Regions from separate parts of the Homo sapiens genome. Here regions 2, 3 and 4 are each linked to region 1. The links are contacts of gene promoters, found by promoter capture Hi-C in human tissues and cell types (Jung and others, 2019). All regions are on one chromosome and are shown on one strand. The core of a region is centred on a gene start or on the middle of the fragment in contact, and the rest is flanking DNA. Distances in the headings are between cores, read along the strand shown.

Evidence for each region. Contacts are between HindIII fragments. The study calls those that stand out against the background at their distance.
Region 2: a contact is called between a fragment that was not itself captured here and the fragment with the promoter of NCOA6 in region 1, in 2 of the 25 tissues and cell types used here (lymphoblastoid cells and mesenchymal stem cells).
Region 3: a contact is called between a fragment that was not itself captured here and the fragment with the promoter of NCOA6 in region 1, in 3 of the 25 tissues and cell types used here (IMR-90 fibroblasts, lymphoblastoid cells and spleen).
Region 4: a fragment that was not itself captured here is called in contact with the fragment with the promoter of NCOA6 in region 1 in 2 of the 25 tissues and cell types used here (hippocampus and spleen).

What each region holds. Positions count from the first base shown.
Region 1 is chr20:34,821,654-34,826,973 of GRCh38, reverse strand. It overlaps NCOA6 (nuclear receptor coactivator 6), which reads left to right and starts at 1,323. Exons shown (of 15, transcript NM_014071.5): 1 at 1,323-1,502. RefSeq lists silencers at 1,217-1,406, 1,417-1,856. The HindIII fragment of the contact is 14,831 bases long and covers 1-5,320 here.
Region 2 is chr20:35,122,566-35,127,829 of GRCh38, reverse strand. MMP24-AS1-EDEM2 (MMP24-AS1-EDEM2 readthrough) reads left to right here. Exons shown (of 15, transcript NM_001355008.2): 12 at 1,455-1,579; 13 at 3,796-3,940. It overlaps EDEM2 (ER degradation enhancing alpha-mannosidase like protein 2), which reads left to right. Exons shown (of 11, transcript NM_018217.3): 8 at 1,455-1,579; 9 at 3,796-3,940. Among named protein-coding and RNA genes, the nearest start is that of EDEM2, 22 kb to the left of the region's middle. The HindIII fragment of the contact is 6,297 bases long and covers 1-5,264 here.
Region 3 is chr20:34,516,811-34,522,206 of GRCh38, reverse strand. The region is part of intron 1 of DYNLRB1 (dynein light chain roadblock-type 1); the gene reads right to left. Among named protein-coding and RNA genes, the nearest start is that of DYNLRB1, 3.1 kb to the right of the region's middle. RefSeq lists enhancers at 5,254-5,396, 5,100-5,396. The HindIII fragment of the contact is 5,242 bases long and covers 1-4,512 here.
Region 4 is chr20:35,139,005-35,143,921 of GRCh38, reverse strand. MMP24-AS1-EDEM2 (MMP24-AS1-EDEM2 readthrough) reads left to right here. Exons shown (of 15, transcript NM_001355008.2): 8 at 1,444-1,549. EDEM2 (ER degradation enhancing alpha-mannosidase like protein 2) reads left to right here. Exons shown (of 11, transcript NM_018217.3): 4 at 1,444-1,549. Among named protein-coding and RNA genes, the nearest start is that of EDEM2, 5.9 kb to the left of the region's middle. The HindIII fragment of the contact is 7,283 bases long and covers 1-4,917 here.

The sequences.
Region 1 (5,320 bases), core at 74-2,573:
GGGTTACCAGAGGCTGGTAAGATTAATGGGGAGGTAGGTGGGAAGTGGGAATGATTAACGGGTACAAAAGAATAGTTAGAAAGAATAAGACCTAGTATTTGCTAGCACAAGAAGGTGACTACAGTAAAAAACAATTGGCCGGGCGCGGTGGCTCACGCCTATAATCCCAGCACTTTGAGGGGCAGAGGCGGGCGGATCATGAGGTCAGGAGTTCCTGACCAGCCCGGCCAATATGGTGAAACCCCATCTCTACTTAAAAAATATACAAAAATTAGCTGGGCGTGGTGGCATGCGCCTGTAGTACCAGCTACTCAGGAGGCTGAGGCAGGCGAATCCCTTGAACCAGGGAGGCGGAAGTTGCAGTGAGCTGAGATCGCGCCACTGCACTCCAGCCTGGGCGACGGAGTGAGACTCCGTCTCAAAAAAACAAAAATAAAACAAAAAACAAAAAAAAAACCACACACACACAAAATTTACTTGTACATTTTAAAATAACTAGAGTATAATTGGGTTATTTGTAACACAAAGGATAAATGCTTGAGTTGCTAGATACCCCATTTACCATGATGTGATTACACATCGCATGCCTGTATCAAAATCTCATGTACCCCATAAATATATTCACCTACTACGTACTTACGAAAATTTAAAAAATACATCAGTGTAGTGTGGGAAAAAACAGAAAATTTTTAAAAAAGAGTGAAAGCCAGATATGAATCCAGGCCTGTATGACAGACATGAAGTCCAGTGCTGAGGAGGCCTTTCTACGTTTGGGAAGAGGGGAGGGGCCACACTCGTTCGATCAATAATTCTATTTACTGAGCATTTTAGCTTGCTAGGGAGGTAATGATGGGAAAAAGAAGAGAGGGATTTAGAGGCAAATAATAATGAAAGCTTTTATCTATATCCCATTAAGCTTATTATTAGACAGTATGTGTCAGGCACGGTGACAAGTGCTTTCCAAGCCCACCTCCATTTGCTCTTCACAAGCACTATGATTTTCCCCATATTTCAGATGGGTAAACTGAGGCTTGGAGTTGCCATGTCCAAGGATACTCAGAGCGCTCGCAAAAGACTGTGCAATGTGTGCTTCCGAAGTGGGACTCACTGGCGAGAGAATAGCCCTGGAAAGCCGACAGAGACCCACGAGATCCCAGCACTAAGCACTCAGCACCGAAGGGAGCTGGCGCGCGCTCCACCTCGCGCTCCCGGGGACGTCTGGTCACGTGGGCAATGCCCCGCCCCTCGAGTCCGCCCCGCCCCCTCTCGCGCTCCCTCCCTCTCTCCCTCCCTCCCCCTCCCTCCCCGGCCCGGTCCGGCCCATCCCCCTCCCCGCCGGCTCCGTGAGGCCCTGCCGGGTCGGGCTGCGGGCGGCCGGGCGCGGGCGGCGGGACAGACGGGCGCACGCGAGGACTGACGGACGGACGCACCGAGGGCGGCGGGCACGCACGGCCCGGGCCGGCGCTCCAAGGCCCGCCCGGGAGGGCCGGGGCCGCGCTCAGGTGAGGGGACGGCGGCGCGGGCCCGTAAGGGGTGGGCCCGCCGGGCGTCCGCGGTCCTTGTCGGGCTGGCTTCGCGGGGAGGAGGCGCCGCCCGGGCCCGCGCGGAAAAATGGCGCCGGGCGACCGAGTGGCACGGTCTGAGAGCGGGCCCGGCCCGGAGCCGCCCCGCCCGCCGCGCTTGTGTCCCCGTCGCCATGTTGGGGAGCGGGCCCCAGGCCTGCGGGCGGGGGCGCTGGAGGGAGCGGCGGCCGGGCTGGGTGGGGAGGGTGCTGGGCGCGGGGGCCGGTGCACTGAGGGAGTGCAGGGCTGGCCGGGGTCTGCACGGGGTGGCGCTCCAGGCCTGGGGAACAGGCGGGAGCCGGTCGTGGGGTCGTGGTCAGGGTCGCGGAGAAGGAACACTGGGTCCGAAGGGAACCGGGATTGGGGTCTATGGGCTGAGAGGATGGCAGGACGTGGAACTGGGTTAGGCCTTAGGCGGTGTTAGAGCCCTAATGCAGGTAGGACCTGGGGATTGGGGTGGAGGCATGGGGGCCAAGCTCAGGCTGTCAGGGCTGGAGCAGTTCTTTGCTGGGAGGGAAGGAGGTGATTGATGAGGAATGAGGGCCCTTTGGGTACAGACGCTGGTTCAGATTGGGGCAGTCCTTGGGGTACTGGGGCTGAATTGCAAAGCTGTATAACTCCCAAGGCTCTGAAGACTTATGTCCCAAGCATCCTCCACCCCCTCTTGGGGGAAGCAACAGGAAAAAGGAGGTGTTTGATGAGAGAAAAGGGGGACAAAGGGAGACTGAGGTTTGGGTGCAGGAGCTGGCCAGCAAAAGAGGCACAGAGAGTGGAACTGGTTGGCAAGGAAGGAGAGAACCTTTATCAACTTAGGGAGTTGTGTGTGTCTTTAAAAGGAGGGACCTGGCTGTTTGGGGGCGGTGACCCAAGGTGTCTTCCCTGGAAGGGGACAGCCCACAGCTTAAGAGCAGAGTCACCTGGAGAGGTCATCAGAAAGGCGTTATTGAAGCCAGTAAAATGGTGAAGAAGAGTGAATGTATAAAAACTACAAAGGCCTGAGAGATCAAGTAAAGATTTCAAATCAGGTAGTGATTTTAGCTGAAACATAGAAAGGTAAAGTTGACTTTTCAAGATCTTACAAGTTAGTGGCAGAGGGGTACTAGAAATTGTCGGCTGCTTCCTCACTAAACACATTGCCTTAAAGGAATTTGCTAGCTGGGAGAAAGGTGTTAAGAAATGAAGCATAACATTCTTGTGATGAAACTAAAAGCAAACAAACAAAAACAACAAGAAATGAAGCATAACAGTATATACCAGATAACTATTAAATTTGTTTTCTTCCTGTAATGAGTGTGGCAATACAAAGGCTGAAGGGAATACAAAAAAGTATAGGCAGCCAGTTATTTGGTATTTCCTGGTTCATCTCTAATTGTGCAAAGAAGTTATCTTTGAGACCTTCTAACTTTCTAGAGTTTTAAGAGGTGCTCCGGCCAGCCACAGTGGCTCACGCCTGTAATCCCAACACTTTGGGAGGCCAAGGTGGGAGGATTTCTTGAGCCCAGGAGCTGGCAGACCCCATCTCTACAAAAGAAATAAAAAAAATTAGCCACCTGATGTGGCTTGTACTTGTAGTCCCAGCTACTCAGGAGGCTGAGGTGGGAGGATCGCTTGAGCCTGGGAGGTCAAGGCTGCAATGAGCCATGCTATGGTCATTCCATGACATTCCTGCCTGGGCGACAGAGCAAGACACTGTCTAAAGAAAAAAAAAAAAGAGAGATGCTCCTTCTCTTCTAGGTGTTTACCACAAAGGAACACAAAATCCTAAAAAAGAAAAGTGAAAAATTGTAGACACCCAGAGTCTCTATTTTATTAATTGAAGTTGGATCATGTTAGAGAAGAATTCAAAGTTCGCATGGGCTATGGGAGAGTTCTGAAGGAAATATGCAAATTAGTCATGGAAAATAGGTCCAGGGCCCCATATAATCAAAGAGAATTAGCGAACAAAAATATTATGCGGGCATATATAAAATAAAACTGTCAATACCATATGTATATACAGCAACACAATTCATTTGTTCTGGGTTTTTCTTTTCTTTTCTTTTCTTTTTTTTCTGTTTGTAGAGTTGGGGTTTCAACATGTTGCCCAGGCTGGTCTTGAAATCCTGAGCTCAAGTGATCTGCCCACCTGAGCCTCCCAAAGTGCTGGGATTACAGGCGTGAGCCACCGCGCCCAGCCTATTCTGGGTTTTTCTAATGCAGGAAGACCTGACCTTATCTGTGCCATGGACCCCTTTCAGAATAATATTTTTTAATTGTATAAAATAAAGTACATTGAATTATAAGGAACACCAATTATATTAAAATACAGTTTCCAAAATATACAAATCTAATATGCATATACTTGTTTATCAGCACGTTAAGAAATCAGATTTAGTGATGGATCCGATAATTATAATTTCAAAGACATGATGCGCATAAAGGCTACTTCAAGATTATATGCAACAATTGTAGTATGATATAAAGATATTTGAGATTTCTGTTGTTACAGAGTCACAGAACTGCTAATACTAGAATGGTATGTTACCTACACTCATATTTGAATAGAATGGTAATTTTCAGTTAAAAGTTAGTAAAAGAGATTTTTTTCTCCCTGTCCAAGTTCACAAGCCCCACTGAAGTCCTATCTATAGACTCCTGTCTATGAACCCCAGGTTAAGAAACCCTACTCCTACTGCCAGGCATGTCTTCCATTCAGCAAACGTTTACTGTGCCTCAAGGCATCTACTGCATATCAAGCATTATACTGGGCTCTGTAGCTTCAGAAGTTTTTAAGGCAGAGTCACTTCACTTTGGGTATGCAGCCCCATGAGTGAAGTAGACATGTGAACAATCATAGTTCAGGATGGTCGATGCCAAAGAAGAGTTATTAAACGCTATAAGGACACGGAGATGGGTGTGTCTGCTCAAAGAATCAGGGAAGGTGTTGCGAAGGGGTGACATTTGAGATGTGTCCTAAAAGATACAGGAATTTGCCAGTGAAATGGAGAGAAGGGCCTTTCAGGTAAAGACACGTTTTCAGGGAATGTATTAATAACTGAATGTGGCTGGAGCATAGAATGTGTGTGAAAGCATGGCCAGAGATGAGACTAGGAAGACCATGTTAGGAACCTGGTTGTGAAGGACCTTGCTAAGGAGTTTGGACTGAATCCTTAGCTGAGAGAGGCATTCAAGATCTTCGAGAAGGGGAGTATGTGGTGGAGGTTTAATTTCTAGGAGATAAATGGATGTTCTTTGGAAGGAGGGTAGACTGAAGACCAGAGAGGTAATGAGGATCTGAACTAAGGCAGAGACTGTGGGCACTGAGCAGAGTTAGAAGTAATGAGGATCTGAACTAAGGCAGAGACTGTGGGCACTGAGCAGAGTTAGAAGTAATGAGGATCTGAACTAAGGCAGAGGCTGTGGGCATTGAGTGGAGTTAGAATTTGCAGGTGTTGATTATTGACATTGTGAGTGGCTTAGGGGGAGTTTTTTAAATTTCTGGTTTGGGGTGGTGTCTGTCAAAGAGGTTTAAAAAAGTGAAAGGAAGTCTGGGCGTGTTGGCTCACGCCTGTAATCCCAGCACTTTGGGAGGCCGAGGCGGGCGGATCACGAGGTCAGGAGATCGAGACCATCCTGGCTAACATGGTGAAACCCCATCTCTACTAAAAATACAAAAAATTAGCCGGGCGTGGTGGCGGGCGCCTGTAGTCGCAGCTACTCGGGAGGCTGAGGCAGGAGAATGGTGTGAACCCGGGAGGCGGAGCTTGCAGTGAGCCGAG
Region 2 (5,264 bases), core at 1,217-3,716, 300 kb before region 1:
TCAGTGTTGACCAACATGTTGTTATATGGCACATGACTGTATATAGAGTTTATTTAGTACTATCCATGGTTTCAGACATCCACTGAGGGTCTTGGAACGTATTCTCCTCACATAAGGGGGGACTACTTTACTCATTTATTCAACAAATATTTATTGAATACCACGGATGTACCAAGCATTGTGCCAAGCTCTGAACATGGACTGTTTCATATAATCCTTACAACTCCTGTTTGAGATTATCTTATTTATTTGCATGTATATTTGGTACTTTGTTCATTCAGAAAATGTTTATTGCTCATTGTACTAGTGTGGGGGATTCTGCAGTAGACAAAACAAAGTCCCAGGCCTCATGGATTTACAATCTAGGGGAGAGATATGAGGGATAAATTCAAGTTCCTACTAGAATGTAAGTTCTCTGAAGGCTGGATTTTGTCTTGTTTACAAACTCATAGGAGCCTGGAACCTAGTAGGTGCTTAGCGAATGTTTGTGGTATAAATAAATGACTGAAAAATTCCACAGATACCTAACATTACTGTATTAGACCATTTTCACTGCTGATAAAGACGTACTCAAGACTGGGTAATTTATAAAGAAAAAGAGGTTTAATGGACTCACAGTTCCACATGGCTGGGGAGGCCTCACAATCGTGGCGGAAGGCGAAAGGCACATCTTACATGGTGCAGGCAAGAGAGAATGAGAGCCAAGTGAAAGGGGAAACCTCTTATAAAACCATCAGATCTTGTGAGACTTATTCACTACCATGAGAACAGTATGGGGGAAACGGCCCCCATGATTCAATTATCTCCCACCAGGTCCCTTCCACAACACGTGAGAAATATGGGAGCTACAATTCAAGGTGAGATTTAGGTGGGGACACAGCCAAACCACATCAATTATTTTCTGCTTTTTTCTTTTTGAGATGGAGTTTCACTCTTGTTGCCCAGGCTGGAGTGCAATGGTGCGATCTCAGCTCACAGCAACCTCCGCCTCCTGGGTTCAAGCAATTCTCCTTCCTCAGCCTCCCAAGTAGCTGAGATTACAGGCATGCACCACCACACCTGGCTAATTTTGTATTTTTAGTAGAGACAGGGTTTCTCCGTGTTGGTCAGGCTGGTCTCGAACTCCCAATCTCAGGTGATCCGCCCACCTCGGCCTCCCAAAGTGCTGGGATTATAGATGTGAGCCACCACGCCTGGCCTCCCCATTTTATAGATCATAAGGCTGAGGCTTAAAAGGGAAAAACCCACCCCAGGTCACGGTTAGCAAGTGGTAGAGCTGGAGCTGGAATTTGAGCTGGAAGTTTGACTCCAGAATCCATGCTCTTGTCTAGCCTCCTTGCCTCATTGCATCCTGGTGCTCTTTCCAAAGTGTAAGTTCTCGCTTCCGCTGTCCAGGCCTGCCTTTTTTCTCCCTAATCACTCATATGTCCATTATCCCATCTCCCCCACTGCAGAGTATAACAAAGCCATCCGGAACTACACCCGCTTCGATGACTGGTACCTGTGGGTTCAGATGTACAAGGGGACTGTGTCCATGCCAGTCTTCCAGTCCTTGGAGGCCTACTGGCCTGGTCTTCAGGTAGGAATGATCAAAGAATGTGATCATCTTTCTATGAGTCTGGCAAAGCAAGCTCATTCTGATGTATAAGTCAAATAATGTACTTTGTTAATTGCTTGAGTACTTTTTTTGGAGGGACAGGTTGAGGATGGAAGAGAGACCTAGAGTGAATTAGATAGATTTAGAGTTCTGCCAAATTGAGTGTCAGGAACTGAGCTTCCAGTTTGCCATGGAGTGTTACAGTACTTAAAGTCGACAGTGCATTTCCAGTCTGGGCAGGAATGGCCATTGGCAACAGGTGTTTCTCCACTGGGCGTTTCTGTCCAATCTCATTCTTGACAGTGGGCCTCAGGAAGGGCAGGAAGCAGCTTGTGCCGCTGTGCCATCTCGTTGTTTTTCCATTACATGGTCTGGTAGAGTTGCAGCTGGAAGGATCTTAGAGCTTATCTAATCTACCCCACTTTGGTGTTCCAAAATAGTGCATGTACCAAAATGTTTTTATAATCTACGTTTTTAAAAGTTTTAAGAAAAAGTAGTCCCACCTGGGCAACATAGTGAGACCTCATCTCTACAAAAAATAAAAAATTAGGTCGGGCGCGGTGGCTCAGGCCTATAATCCCAGCGCTTTGGCAGGCCGAGGCAGGCGGATCACAAGGTTAGGAGATTGAGACCATCCTGGCTAACACGGTGAAACCCCATCTCTACTAAAAATACAAAAAATTAGCTGGGCGTGGTGGTGGGCGCCTGTAGTCCCAGCTACTCGGGAGGCTGAGGCAGGAGAATGGCATGAACCTGGGAGGCGGAGCTTGCAGTGAGCTGAGATTGCGCCACTGCACTCCAGCCTGGATGACAGAGCAAGACTCCGTCTCAAAAAAATAAAAATAAATAAATAAAAATAAAAATAAAAAATTAGCCTAGGGTGGTGGCACATGCCTGTAGTCCCAGCTACTCAGGAGACTGCAGTGGAAGGATTGCTTGAACCCAGAAGATCAAGGCTGCAGTGAGCCATGATCATGCCATTGCAGCCTGGGTGACAGAGTGAGACCCTGTCTCAAAAAAAAAAAAAAAAAGTGGCCACCGGGTTTCTATCCAGAATAACCAGGTAGACATTGTGTCATTTACCAAGAAGGGAAAAAGGCCAAAGTAGGGAGGCAATTTCGTGGGAAAGTAAGGGAACCAAGAATTTTGTTTAGGAAGTGCCAAGTTTGTTCTGTCCATGAGACATCCAATGAAGATGTCAGGGTCAGCTGCTTCCCTGTGAGATTACATTAATAGTAATGGCTACTTAGCAATAGTGGTAAAATTATAAATGCATATATCCTTTGACCCAGTGATCCTAATTCTGAAAATGTATCTTACACATAACATTTTACATCTATTTGATGTGACATATATACAGAATTATTTATTGCCACATTAGTTGTTGGAACCAATTCAAATAAAAATATCTGAAAGCCAAATTTCCATATCTAAAAATATGGAGATAATTAATATCCCTATTAATAAAGAACCAAAGGCTATTTTTTAGTGTGGGGAAAATAACATATACTCATGCATAAAGAAACTCTGAAAGGTTATACAAGAAACCAGTAATGTTTATCTGAGGCCAGGCAAGATGGGTGATGGTTGTAATCCCAGCACTTTGGAAGGCTGAGGTAGGAGGATCACTTGAGCCCAGGAGATTAAGACCAGCCTGGGCAACAAAGTGAGACCCCCATCTCTACAGAAAATAAAAAAATTAGCACTGGGAGGCTGAGGTGAGAGGATCTCTTGAGCCCAGGAGGTCAAGGCTGTAATGAACCGTGATTGTGCCACTGCACTCCAGCCTAGGTGACAGAGCGAGACCCTGTCTCAAAAACAAAAACAAAAATGGTTATCTTTTGGGGGTGTGGTGTGGGAGTGAGCCTTAGCACAAACTTTTCTCTATTCTTAGAATTTTTAACTGGCTGGCCGAATTCCAAAACTGTTAGCTGACATTGACTCTGAAGATTTAGGGACTTAATATACAATCTTTGTTCCTTCCAACAATGCATGAGATAGGTGGTGTATTTTACGTTTTATAGATGGGGCTCAGAGAAGTCCAGTGCCTGGCTCAGCACCACACTGAGTAACTGGCAGACTCAGGGATTGATTCAAGGCCTTTTTGGCCCCACAGATTTTACTTTGTCTTTTCTTAAGGTTGTCTGTGGGGTTTTATGCCTGGTGTCTACCTGCCTGACAGCCACTTTCTCCCACAGAGCCTCATTGGAGACATTGACAATGCCATGAGGACCTTCCTCAACTACTACACTGTATGGAAGCAGTTTGGGGGGCTCCCGGAATTCTACAACATTCCTCAGGGATACACAGTGGAGAAGCGAGAGGGCTACCCACTTCGGCCAGGTGAGCAGCATTTCTGGCTTGTCATCTGCCCACAGGCTCTGGTTGCTGAAACCCCAAATCCCCTCTACAAGGCTCCATCCTCCACAACTGCCCACAAGTTCATTTCTTTCCATCTGTTCCTTTCAGTGGCTCTGGGTGGTTTTCTTACTAGGAGTTAATTATCCCCATGTTTTCAGATATGGAAACTGAGGCCTAGTGGGATGAAATGGCTCGCCTCTGGCTCTTAAGTGCAGGAGCTAGGCCTGGAACCCAGGGCTCCTAACTAAATTGCATGCTCTTTTTTATTTTTATTTTTTTGAGATGGAGTTTCGCTATTGTTGCCCAGACTGAAGTGCAATGGTGTGATCTCGGCTCACCGCAACCTCCGCCTCCTGGGTTCAAGCGATTCTCCTGCCTCAGCCTCCCGAGTAGCTGGGATTACAGGCATGAGCCACCATGCCCAGCTAATTTTGTATTTTTAGTAGAGATGGAGTTTCTCCATGTTGGTCAGGCTGGTCTTGAACTCCCAGCCTCAGGTGATCCGCCCACCTTGGCCTCCCAAAGTGCTGGGATTACAGATGTGAGCCACTGCGACTGGCCCCATATGCTCTTTCAAATCAGGAAATGAGTGAGAAGGAAAAGGCCAAGGTTGACTCCTTTTGAGCTCCTGCCATCAGGATTTCAGAAGTGTAGGCAAGCTTCCTAAGTCCATGGGTCAGATAAATTATGCTTACGTGTATGGAATGTTAGAACTTTGGGGCGGACCTTAGGAATTACCTAGTCTCTTCCACCTCCCCATTTGCAGCTCAGAATCAAGCAAAGGACTATATTTGAGACACTCTCATAGGTTCCTTTCTAGCCCTAATGTCATTTGATTCACTTCAGGGAAGCTGAAAATTGTGAGGAGGGAAAGAAAAAGAGGGACAAAGGAAGGAAGCTTAGTCAGCACACATAGTCATCCCCCACCCCAAAACAGGCTATGAGCCCATTGTCTTAGACACTTCCCACTTTCCCACCTGAATTGCCTTTTAGCCATGGGACAGGCCTTCTGGTTATCCTGCCTTCCTCTACCCCATTTCCTTCCTCTTCTAACTCAAGTGATTATCGTAGGAGGTGTAGAGGGGACCAGGAGAGGGAATAAAGAGCAAATTCATCAACTTTTGACTCCTTAGAGGCCACTGTTATTGATGTTTCTCATGCATTTGTTCTCATGGCATGTTTTTAAAACAGGAAACTTGGTTGGGCATGGTGGCTCACGCCTGTAATCCCAGCACTTTGGGAGGCCAAGGCAGGTGGATCACCTGAAGTCAGGAGTTTGAGACCAGCCTGGCCAACATGGTGAAAC
Region 3 (5,396 bases), core at 642-3,141, 310 kb after region 1:
GTGACCACAACTGAGGAGGTCCCTGCCCTCAGGGAGCTCACATTCTGGTGAAAGAGACTTAAACAAGTGAGCAAGATTCTTGCAGGATACAGGGACTAGGCTGTGGGGCAAGGGATGCTACTCTGGCTAATGTGGTCAGGAACACCTGAGGAGATGTAATCTTTTTTTTTTTTGAGATAGGGTCTCACTCTGTCACCCAGGCGTGCCATGGTTCGATCATGGCTCACTGCAGCCTTGACCTCCCAGGCTCAAGTGATCCTCCCACTTCAGCCTCCCGAACACGTGGGACTACTGATGTGTACTGCCAAACCCAGCTAATTTTTTGTAGAGATGGGGTTTCGACATGTTGCCCAGGCTGGTCTTGAACTCCTGGGCTCAAGTGATCTACTGCCTTGGCCTCCCAAACTGTTGGGACTACAGGCGTGAGCCACCATTCTCGGCCATAAGTATGTCATCTTTAAGCCAAGAATCAAATGATGAGAAAGAAATGCACTCTGGGCAATGGGATGATGGAGACAAGGTTCCCCAATTCTCTAGTTCCCAGATGCACATTCCTGACACATGGAAAAACAAGCAGCAATAAAGATCCAGGAGGATCCATTGGCTCAGCATAGGAGGGATGACCACTGGAAGCAAATGACTGACAAAGAACTATGACCAATTTGACCACTAAACATAAAACTTCTGTATAAGAATAACTAATCTAACAGGATAGAAAAGTATTTGCATCAAATATAACAGACAAAATAAATAAAAAAAAAACACAAAATGACTAAGAACAATAGCAAGTCTCTAGTAGGTAGTGCACAAAAGAATACTAGTAGAAAATATGCCTACGAGAAATTACAATCACATCAAACCATGGTCATCATCCCTCACAAACAAATGAAAAATTCAGCTGGGCGTGGTGCTCACACCTGTAATCTCAGCACTTTGGGAAACTGAGGTGGGTGAATCACTTGAGGTCAGGAGTTTGAGACCAGCCTGGCCAACATGGGGAAACCCTGTCTCTACTAAAAATACAAAAATTAGCCGTCATGGTGGCATGGGCCTGTAATCCCAGCTACTCAGGAGGCTGAGGCAGGAAAATTGCTTGAACCTGGGAGGCAGAGTTTGTAGTGAGCTGAGATCGTGCCCTCCAGCCTGGGCAACAGAGTGAGATTCCATTTCAAAAAAAAAAGACAGAAATGAAAAATTATAGCAATGCTGAGGTTTATTTTTAAATGCTGGCATTGTTATTACAAAACTGGCAGGTGCAAGGGCAATACAATCTTGACAAAGCTACAGGACAATATATTGCAAGAACCATAAAAGCACTGGTCCTTCCACCTCAGAAATTATTTTCCTAAGAATTTTATCCTGAGGAAATAATCTAATAAGTAAGTTAAAATGAAACAAAACAAGATATTCACAGAAGCATCATCACAGCACTATTTCTACTAATTAAGAAATGGAAGCAGCCAGGTATGGTGGCTCATGCCTGTAATCCTGGCACTTTGGGAGGCTGAGGCAGGCGGATCACCTGAGGTCAGGAGTTTGAGACCAGCCTGGCCAACATGGCGAAACCCTGTTTCTACTAAAAAATACAAAAATTAGCTGGGCGTCATGATGCACACCTGTTAATCCCAGCTACTCAGGAGGCTGAGGCAGGAAAATCACTTGAACCTGGGAGGCAGAGGTTGCAGTGAGCTGAGATTGAGCCACTGAACTCCAGTCTGGGCAACAGAGTGAGACTCCATCTCTAAAACAAACAAACCAAAAAGAAATGGGAGCAACCCAAATGTACACAGGTAAGATATTTGGCCAATTATGGTACAACTATTTCACCGAGTATTATGTAGTCACTAAGTAGTTAATCACAAAGATGATATGACAACAAGGTTAAATGTTTTTGGATATTAAAACAACAAAAAAAGAAAAAAATCCCCCCAAAACTCAGCATGCATTATCTTGGAAAATATGCATATGTGAACAAAAGAGGAAGGAGAACATACAAAGATGAAAATAGTTATGTGGCACAGTGAAACTGGACGAGGAGAATTATATGTGATTATTTTTTAATTTTATTTATTTATTTTGAGACAGAGTCTTGCTCTGTTGCCCAGGCTGGAGTGCACTGGCCTGGTCTCGGATCACTGCAACCCCCGCCTCCCGGGTTCAAGCGATTCTAGTGCCTCAGCCTCCTGAGCAGCTGGAATTACAGATGCACGGCTTCCGGCTACTTTTCGTATTTTTAGTAGAGACAGAGTTTCACCATGTTGCCCAGGCTGGTCTCCAACTCCTGACCTCAAGTGATCTGCCCACCTTGGCCTCCCAAAGTGCTGGGATTATATGCGTCAGCCATTGTGTCCGGCCAATTATAGATGATTTTTATATCATTATTCTAAAGGTCAGTTTCCACCTAAAATGTAAAATATGCAAGCCAAAAGTGCCACTTGTAGAAATCTATCCTACATAACCACTAGCATGAGTGCAAAAAAGACAAGAACAGTTACTGCAGCAGTGTCTGGAATAAAAAAACTATACACCACCTAAATGTACATATGGGACTAGGATACGATACAGACCTTAAAAAGAATGAAGTGGACCTGCATATAATAACACAGAAAAATGTGTGATATTTTTAAGTGAACAGAACAAGTTGCAGAATAAGATATATACATATATATCTTAAAGTCAACTTCTGTTTTCTCTTATTTTTTTCTCACCCAGGGTGGAGTGCAGTGGTGCAGTCACGGCTCACTGTAGCCTTGACCTCCTGGGCTCAGGCGATCTCTCCACTTCAGCCTTAAAGTAAAGTTAACATATACAAATATATATATATTCCAGTTTCATCTAATAAACAGCTTATACATAAATGTGCTTATGCACCAAACACATCTGGAAGGAAACACACCCAACTGCCAACAGAAGTTGCCACGGGGTAGTAAGATGGGGACCACATAAACTTTCTATATTATATCCTCTGGTACTGCTTCAAATTGTTAACATACATGGTGGTTTACGCCCATAATCCCAGCATTTTTGGAGGCGGAGGTGGGCGGATCACCTGAGGTCATGAGTTTGAGACCAGCCTGGTCAACATGGTGAAACCCTGTCTCTACTAAAAATAGAAAAAAAACCCTGTCTCTACCAAAAATAGAAAAATTAGCCAGGCATGGTGGCATGCTCCTGCAGTCCCAGCTACTCCGGAGGCTGAGGCAGGAGAATCACTCGAACCCGGGAGGCAGAGGTTGCAGTGAGCTCAGATCACACCACTGCACTCCAGCCTGGGCGAAAGGGCAAGACTCTGTTTCAAAAGAAAAAAAAAAAAAGTTAAACTAGGCATCTAAATTTGCATTGCTTTTATGAGTATAACCACGGAGTAGCATAATACAGGTTCTAGAAAGCTACAGTTTAAGTAAGAAAAAGGGGGGCCATATAAGTGCTTGTATAGATGCATAAGAAACTAACAGCTGGGTGTGGTGGCTCACGCCTGTAATCCTAACACTTTGGGAGGCCAACGTGGGTGAATCACTTGAGCCCAGGAGTTCAAGACCAGCCTGGGCAACATGGCAAAACCCCAACTCTACAAAAAAAAAATACAAAAAAATTAGCAGGGTGTGGTGGCGTGCACCAGTAGTCCCAGATACTTGGGGAATTAAGGCAGGAGGATCACTTGAGCCCAGGAGGGTCAAGTTTGCAAGAAAAAAAAAAAAAGAAACTAACAATGGTTGTTTCTAAAGGAGGAGAGACTGAGACTGGGGGTTAGGAGAGTGGGAATTTTATTTTTCACTTAGATCCTTTTACATCATTTATTTTTTTACTGTGTGCAAGTATTACCTGTAAACAATCCTAAAATTCGTATGGAACCACAAAAGACTCAGAAAAGCCAAAAGAAGCCTGGACGAAAAGAACAAAGCTTGAGGTATCACACTACCTGATTTCAAAATATACCAGAAAGGTATAGTAACCAAAAGAGCATGGTATTGGTATAAAACACAGACCAATGGAATAGAATAGAGGACCCAGAAATAAATCCACTTATTTACGGCCAACTGATTTTCGACAAAGGCATCGAAAAAACAAAACAAAACAAAAACAACAACAAAAACGAAAAAAAAAACCTACCATAAATCAGCAATACCACTACTGGGTATTTATTCAAAGGAACGGAAATTAGTACATCAAAGGCATCCCTACATCCTCATGTTCATATTGCAGCACTATTCATAATAGCTAAATTATGGAATTAGCGTCCATCAATAGGTAAATGGATAAAGAAAATGTGGGCCAGGCGTGGTGGCTCACGCCTGTAATCCCAGCACTTTGGGAGGCTGAGGCGAGCAGATCACGAGGTCAGGAGATCGAGACCACCGTGTTGAGGCGGACTAACACGGTGAAACCCCGTCTCTACTAAAAATACAAAAAATTAGCTGGGCGTGGTGGTGGGCGCCTGTAGTCCCAGCTACTCGGGAGGCTGAGGCGGGAGAATCACTTGAACCTGGGAGGCGGAGGTGGCAGTGAACTAAGATGGTGCCACTGCACTCCAGCCTGAGCGACAGAGACACACTCCATCTCAAAAAAAAAAAAAAAAAAAGAAATAATGAATGTTTAAGGTGATGGATATTCTATAATAAATATAGCCTGATTTGATCATTACACATCATATGCATGTATCAAAATATTACATGTATATCTACAACATAAATGTGTACAACTATTATATATCAATTTTTTTTACAGCTTAAGAAGTGATGTGAAAAATGAAGTTATACATATTTGAAGCATTATTACATGTTTGTAATGATGTGGAGATATTGTGGTGTAATAATGAAAAACACAGAACCCACAATTGCACATTCAATAGGGGCTAAACTGTATAAACCAAAAACAAGCAAAAAAGACTAGAAGTCATATGACTACTGTAAGTGGTTGCCTCTAGGTGATGACACGGTTTCTTTTTTCAATTTTTTTATTACAAGCTCTAGATTTCTAAATAAGATTTTTGAAAAAGTAATATATTCACATGGCTTAAAATTTGAAACTTTTTCAAATTTTGCCCAAGCTGTGAGGATTACAAACACAAAACCTGTAACGGCGTTGAGAACCCACAGCTGCAGCAAGCAAGGTAGAAAGCAAGCTTTGGGATCCCCAAGAGCAGACCCCGCCCGTTCCTGACTCTGGCACCCAGTCCCAGCGGCTAGAAAGAACCACGCCGACAGAGTGGCGGCCGTCAAGCTTCTAGGGTTCAAATCCATCTCCACTATTTCCTGGGGCAAAGCACTTGGCTTCTCGGGGCGCTGAATAACAGATATGTATAACAAAATGGGACTAAAGATTGTATCTACCTCACAGAGCTGGGAGGAGGCGGAGGAAATACAAGATACATAAAGTGCTTGGCAGAGCCTGCCACA
Region 4 (4,917 bases), core at 525-3,024, 320 kb before region 1:
AACAAAAAAAAGATATAAAAGAAACCTGATGCTTAGAAAGGTAAAAAGGGCCAGGTGTGGTGGCTCATGCCTGTAATCCCAGCACTTTGGGAGGCCAACATTGCTCAAGTCCCAGAGTTCGAGGCTGTGATGAGCTATGATCACACCACTGCACTCCAACCTGTGTAACAGAGCAAGACCCTGTCTCAAAAAAAAGACTTGGACTGGTTCAGGTCAAGTACCCACTCCACAGCTAGAGGGATGGGATCAGCCTCTCCCAAACCACAGGAGTGACTGCCGGGGAAGAGTGATTCCTCGAGGGTAAATTGAGATGTTACTATCAAAAGAAGAGAGATTGAGATTGCATTTGGCTAACGGTTTAAATAAAGAGGGTTTATTTTCTCAAGTAAAAGAAAGTCTAGAGGTAATTTCTAGCATTGGGTCAGCTACGCAACTGTGTCATTAGAGACCAGCCTCTTTGTAGCTTTGCATTCTAGTATCGTTAGTGTTTTGGCTTTTATTCTAATGCTTAGTACGTCATGGTCTCACATAGCTGCCATCACTTCAGAAATCGAGTCTGAGTTCAAGGCAGAAAGAGAGAGACTAAAAGCCATGTTAGCTGTGTTTGTCCCTTGGTATTAAGAAAACAGAAGCCTTCCCAGAAGTGCCCCCAGTAGACCTCTCAAGGGTCAGAATTGACTGGGTAACACAATCAACTGCAGCAGCAAAGGAGGCCGAGAAAGCTTCTGGATTTCCAACCTCTGGTGGGAGGCCATGAGGTAAAGAGGGTAGGAATGAATTTGTTTTGGGCCAACCAACCTGTTCTGTTTTCCACAAGGTTGAAGGTGACAACTGGTATCTACTGCAAATGTCAAACTAAGACTTTTGGCCAGGTGCGGTCGCTCACACCTGTAATCCCAGCACTTTGGGAGGCCAAGGCGGGTGGATCATGAGGTCAGGAGTTTGAGACCAGCCTGATCAACATGGTGAAACCCCGTCTCTACTAAAAATACAAAAATTAGCCGGGCATGGTGGTGCATAATCCCAGCTACTCGGGGCTGAGGCAGGAGAATCGCTTGAACCCAGGAGGCGGAGTTTGAAGTGAGCCAAGATCACGCCACTGCACTCTACCCTGGGCAGCAGAGCGAGACTCTGTCTCAAAAAAACGAAACAAAAAACCTAAGACTTCTATGCGTAGTTTGCGTTCTTTATATTGTGTCCATTTAAATGACAACATCGTGACTCTTAATTGGGACCTAGGAATTTACTTAACCAGTCTCTTGGTATGAAGTCTCTAGATGATTTCTAGCTCTCAGTGTTTTCTTCTGCTGTCACCAATCCTAGGACAGAAACTGGAGGTCTTAAGTGGAATTAGTGAGGGCCACATCAACATAGGATCCCAGACTCTGAATCTGCCTCCATGCATGTAAGAGCCTCATTGTCAGGTCTCTTTTTTATTTCCAGATTTTGGGGAATGTCTCAGAATTCCAAAGAGTGGTTGAAGTGCTCCAGGACAGCGTGGACTTTGATATTGATGTGAACGCCTCTGTGTTTGAAACAAACATTCGAGGTAAGGGCTGCTCTCTAGGACCTTTAAAAGAAAAAAGAGTGTGAAGTTGCCTCTGTAAACCAAGAAGTGGTAAATAGGATTTTAAGGACTGACCATGCCAGGACCCTTGGCCAAAACCTCTGACCGACAGAGCTCTTCTTCCCTCCTGGAGGGTGAGGTGGGGAAGTCTCAGGATTTCCCCATCAGTTTCAGATATGAAAGTGAGCAGGAGACTAAGAGACTGGAAAGAAATACACCAGATTACTCACCTCTTTAATATGTATTTGATACTAGGCATACAGCTATGAACAAGAAAGATATGATCCTTGCCTTCTTGGAACTTATTGTCTGTCCAATCCAATTTTCTGCAGTGATGGAAATGTCTTATAGCTGTGTTTTGTCCAGTATGGTAGCCACGAACCACATGAGCTATTGAGCATTTGAAATGTATCTACTACAACTATGGAATTGAATTTTTAATTTCATTTAATTTTAATGATATTAAATTTAAGTAGTCACATGTAGTTAGTGATTATTGTATTGGACAGTGCAAATCTACAGCATTAATCTTCCAAACTTGGCAGCCCATAGGAACCACTCCCAAGTGGTTAAAAAATTCAGATGTTGAGACTCCACCCTAAACCTAATGAATTGGAATCTCTGTGTTGGGTCCTAGAATCAGTATTTTTAGCAGACTTCCAGTGATTCTTGTGAAGCCAGCACAGCCCTTATTTGCATCGAACCTCTAGACCACTTAACAGCTGTCACCTCTGGATGGCAGAGTTCTATTTTTCCCCATTATTTTGTATGTTTTCTGCAATGAAACTTATATTCCAGACATATGATCCATAAAAGATTAAAAAAGAGAAGAGAGCAGAGGGACAACATGGTCTAAAATCCTGGTTTAGGAATCCGGCCTGAGTTTGAGGCTGTACTTGCTGCTATGTCTCCCAGCTTCTGAGCCCAGTTTGTCATCTGTAAATGAAGGTCATTCTTATACCTTTATTTCTGATAGGAATATAAGTGATACCAGCTTTCTTTTGGTTGACATTTTCCCATGTATCTTTTTCTATCCTTTCCATCTTTCTGTAGTTTTATGATTAGATACATCTTTTGCAAATAGTGTATTATATTTTGTTTATCCATTCTGACAATCTTTAACTGGCACATTTAATCCATTTACATTTACTGTAATTACTGATATATTTGCACTCATTTCTACAGTATTGTGCTCTCTGTGCCGTCTTCTTTTTTTTTTTTTTTTTTTTTTTTTTGAGGCGGAGTCTCACTCTGTCGCCCAGGCGGGAGTGTAGTGGTGCAATCTTGGCTTACTGCAACCTCTGCCTCCCGGGTTCAGGCGATTCTCCTGTCTCAGCCTCCTATGTAGCTGGGATTGCAGGTGCCTGCCACCGTGCCCTGCTAATTTTTGTATTTTTAGTAGAGATGGGGTTTCACCATGTTGGCCAGGCTAGTCTCGAACTCCTGACCTCAGGTGATCCGCCCCCCATCAGCCTCCCAAAGTGCTGGGATTATAGGTGTGAGCCACTGCACCTGGCCCTGTGCCATCTTCTTTATGTTCCTTTATTCTGTCCTTTTTCATGCCTTCTTTAGATTGTTTTCCCCCCATTCCATTTTCCTCTTACTAATATGGAAATTATGCACAATATCTAGCTTTTTACATAGTTTTCCAAGCAAATTTAACAAACATAACTTATCAAAGTCTAAATTTAATGAAAATCTTTGTTCTCCTCCTGAATAATGCAAAACCTGACTTAGAGAACATCCTGACCTATATGCTACAGTTATATATTTTAGTTATTTGTTTTAAACCTTCCATACATTATAATTTTTGTTCTATATTGTTGAAGTTTTGCATTTACACATAAATTTACCACTTTTTTTGTTGTTGTTGGTTTGAAATAGAGTCTCACTCTGCCACCCAGGCTGGAGTGCAGTGGCGCGATCTTGGCTCACCTCCACCTCCTGGGTTTAAACGATTCTCCTGCCTCAGCCTCCAGAGTAGCTGGGATTACAGTTGTGCACCACCACACCAGGCTAATTTTTGTATTTTTAGTAGAGATGGTGTTTCACCACATTGGCCAGGCTGGTCTCAAACTCATGATCTTGAGTGATCCACCTGCTTTGGCTTCCCAAAGTGCTGGAATTACAGGTTTAGCCACTGTGCCTGGCCTATTTACCACTTTTTTGACTATTTTTTCTTTTCGTGTCTCAGACCTTTTCTCTAAAGTATTTCCTTTAGAATTTCCTTTAATGCAGGTGTGTGCTTCATAAACATTCCCAGCTTTTGTTTATATGAAAATGTCTTTATTCAACTGCCTTTGGTTGGCCTTTGAGTGATATTTTTGCTGGGTGTATGGTTCTAGGTTGATGGTTACTTTCTCTTATTGTGTTAAAAACTTTTTCCATTATCTTCTGGTTTCATTATTGTTAAGAAGTAATCTGTCAATGTAATTATTATTTATTTGTAGAGAATCTTGTTTTGGTTTTCACTTTGGCTGTCTTCTCCTTTTAAAAACTTTTTGTTATGGAAAACTTCAAACATAAAAGTAGAGAAAATAGCATAATGAACCAGACGTGCCCATCACCCAGCATTAATAATTATTATTACATGGATTCTGGCTGCATTCGAGATCATTTTTCCCTTTGGTGTTCTGCAGTTTTACCATAAGGTACATACATGTAGATTTCTTTTCTTTCTTTCTTTTCTTTTTTTTTTTTTTTCTGAGATGGAGTCTCGCTCTGTCGCCCAGGCTGGAGTGCAGTGTCATGATCTCAGCTCACTGCAACCTCCGCCTCCTGGGTTCAAGCAATTCTCCTGCCTCAGCCTCCCGAGTAGCTGGGACTACAGGCGCACAACGCCATGCCCGGCTAATTTTTTGTATTTTTAATAGAGACAGGGTTTCACCGTGTTTACCAGGCTGGTCACGAACTCCTGAGCTCAGGCAGTCCACCTGCCTCAGCCTCCCAAAGTGCTGGGATTACAGGCATGAGCCACCGTGCCCAGACTTTTTTTTTTTTTTTTTGAGACGGAGTCTCACTCTGTCACCCAGGCTGAAGTGCAGTGGTGCAATCTTGGCTCACTGCAACCTCCACCTCCTGGGTTTAAGCCATTCTTCTGCCTCAGCTTCCCAAGTAGCTGGGACTGCAGGCGCTTGCCACCACGCCCAGCTAATATTTTGTATTTTTAGTAGAGACAGGGTTTCACCATTTTAGCCGGGATGGTCTCCATCTCCTGACCTCGTGATCTCCACCTCGGCTCCCAAAGTGCTGGGATTACAGATGTGAGCCACCATGCCTGGCCTGCATAGGGACCTTTTATCAGACTTCCACTTGGGGCAGGTCTGACCTTGGTCTCCTATTCCCCCTCT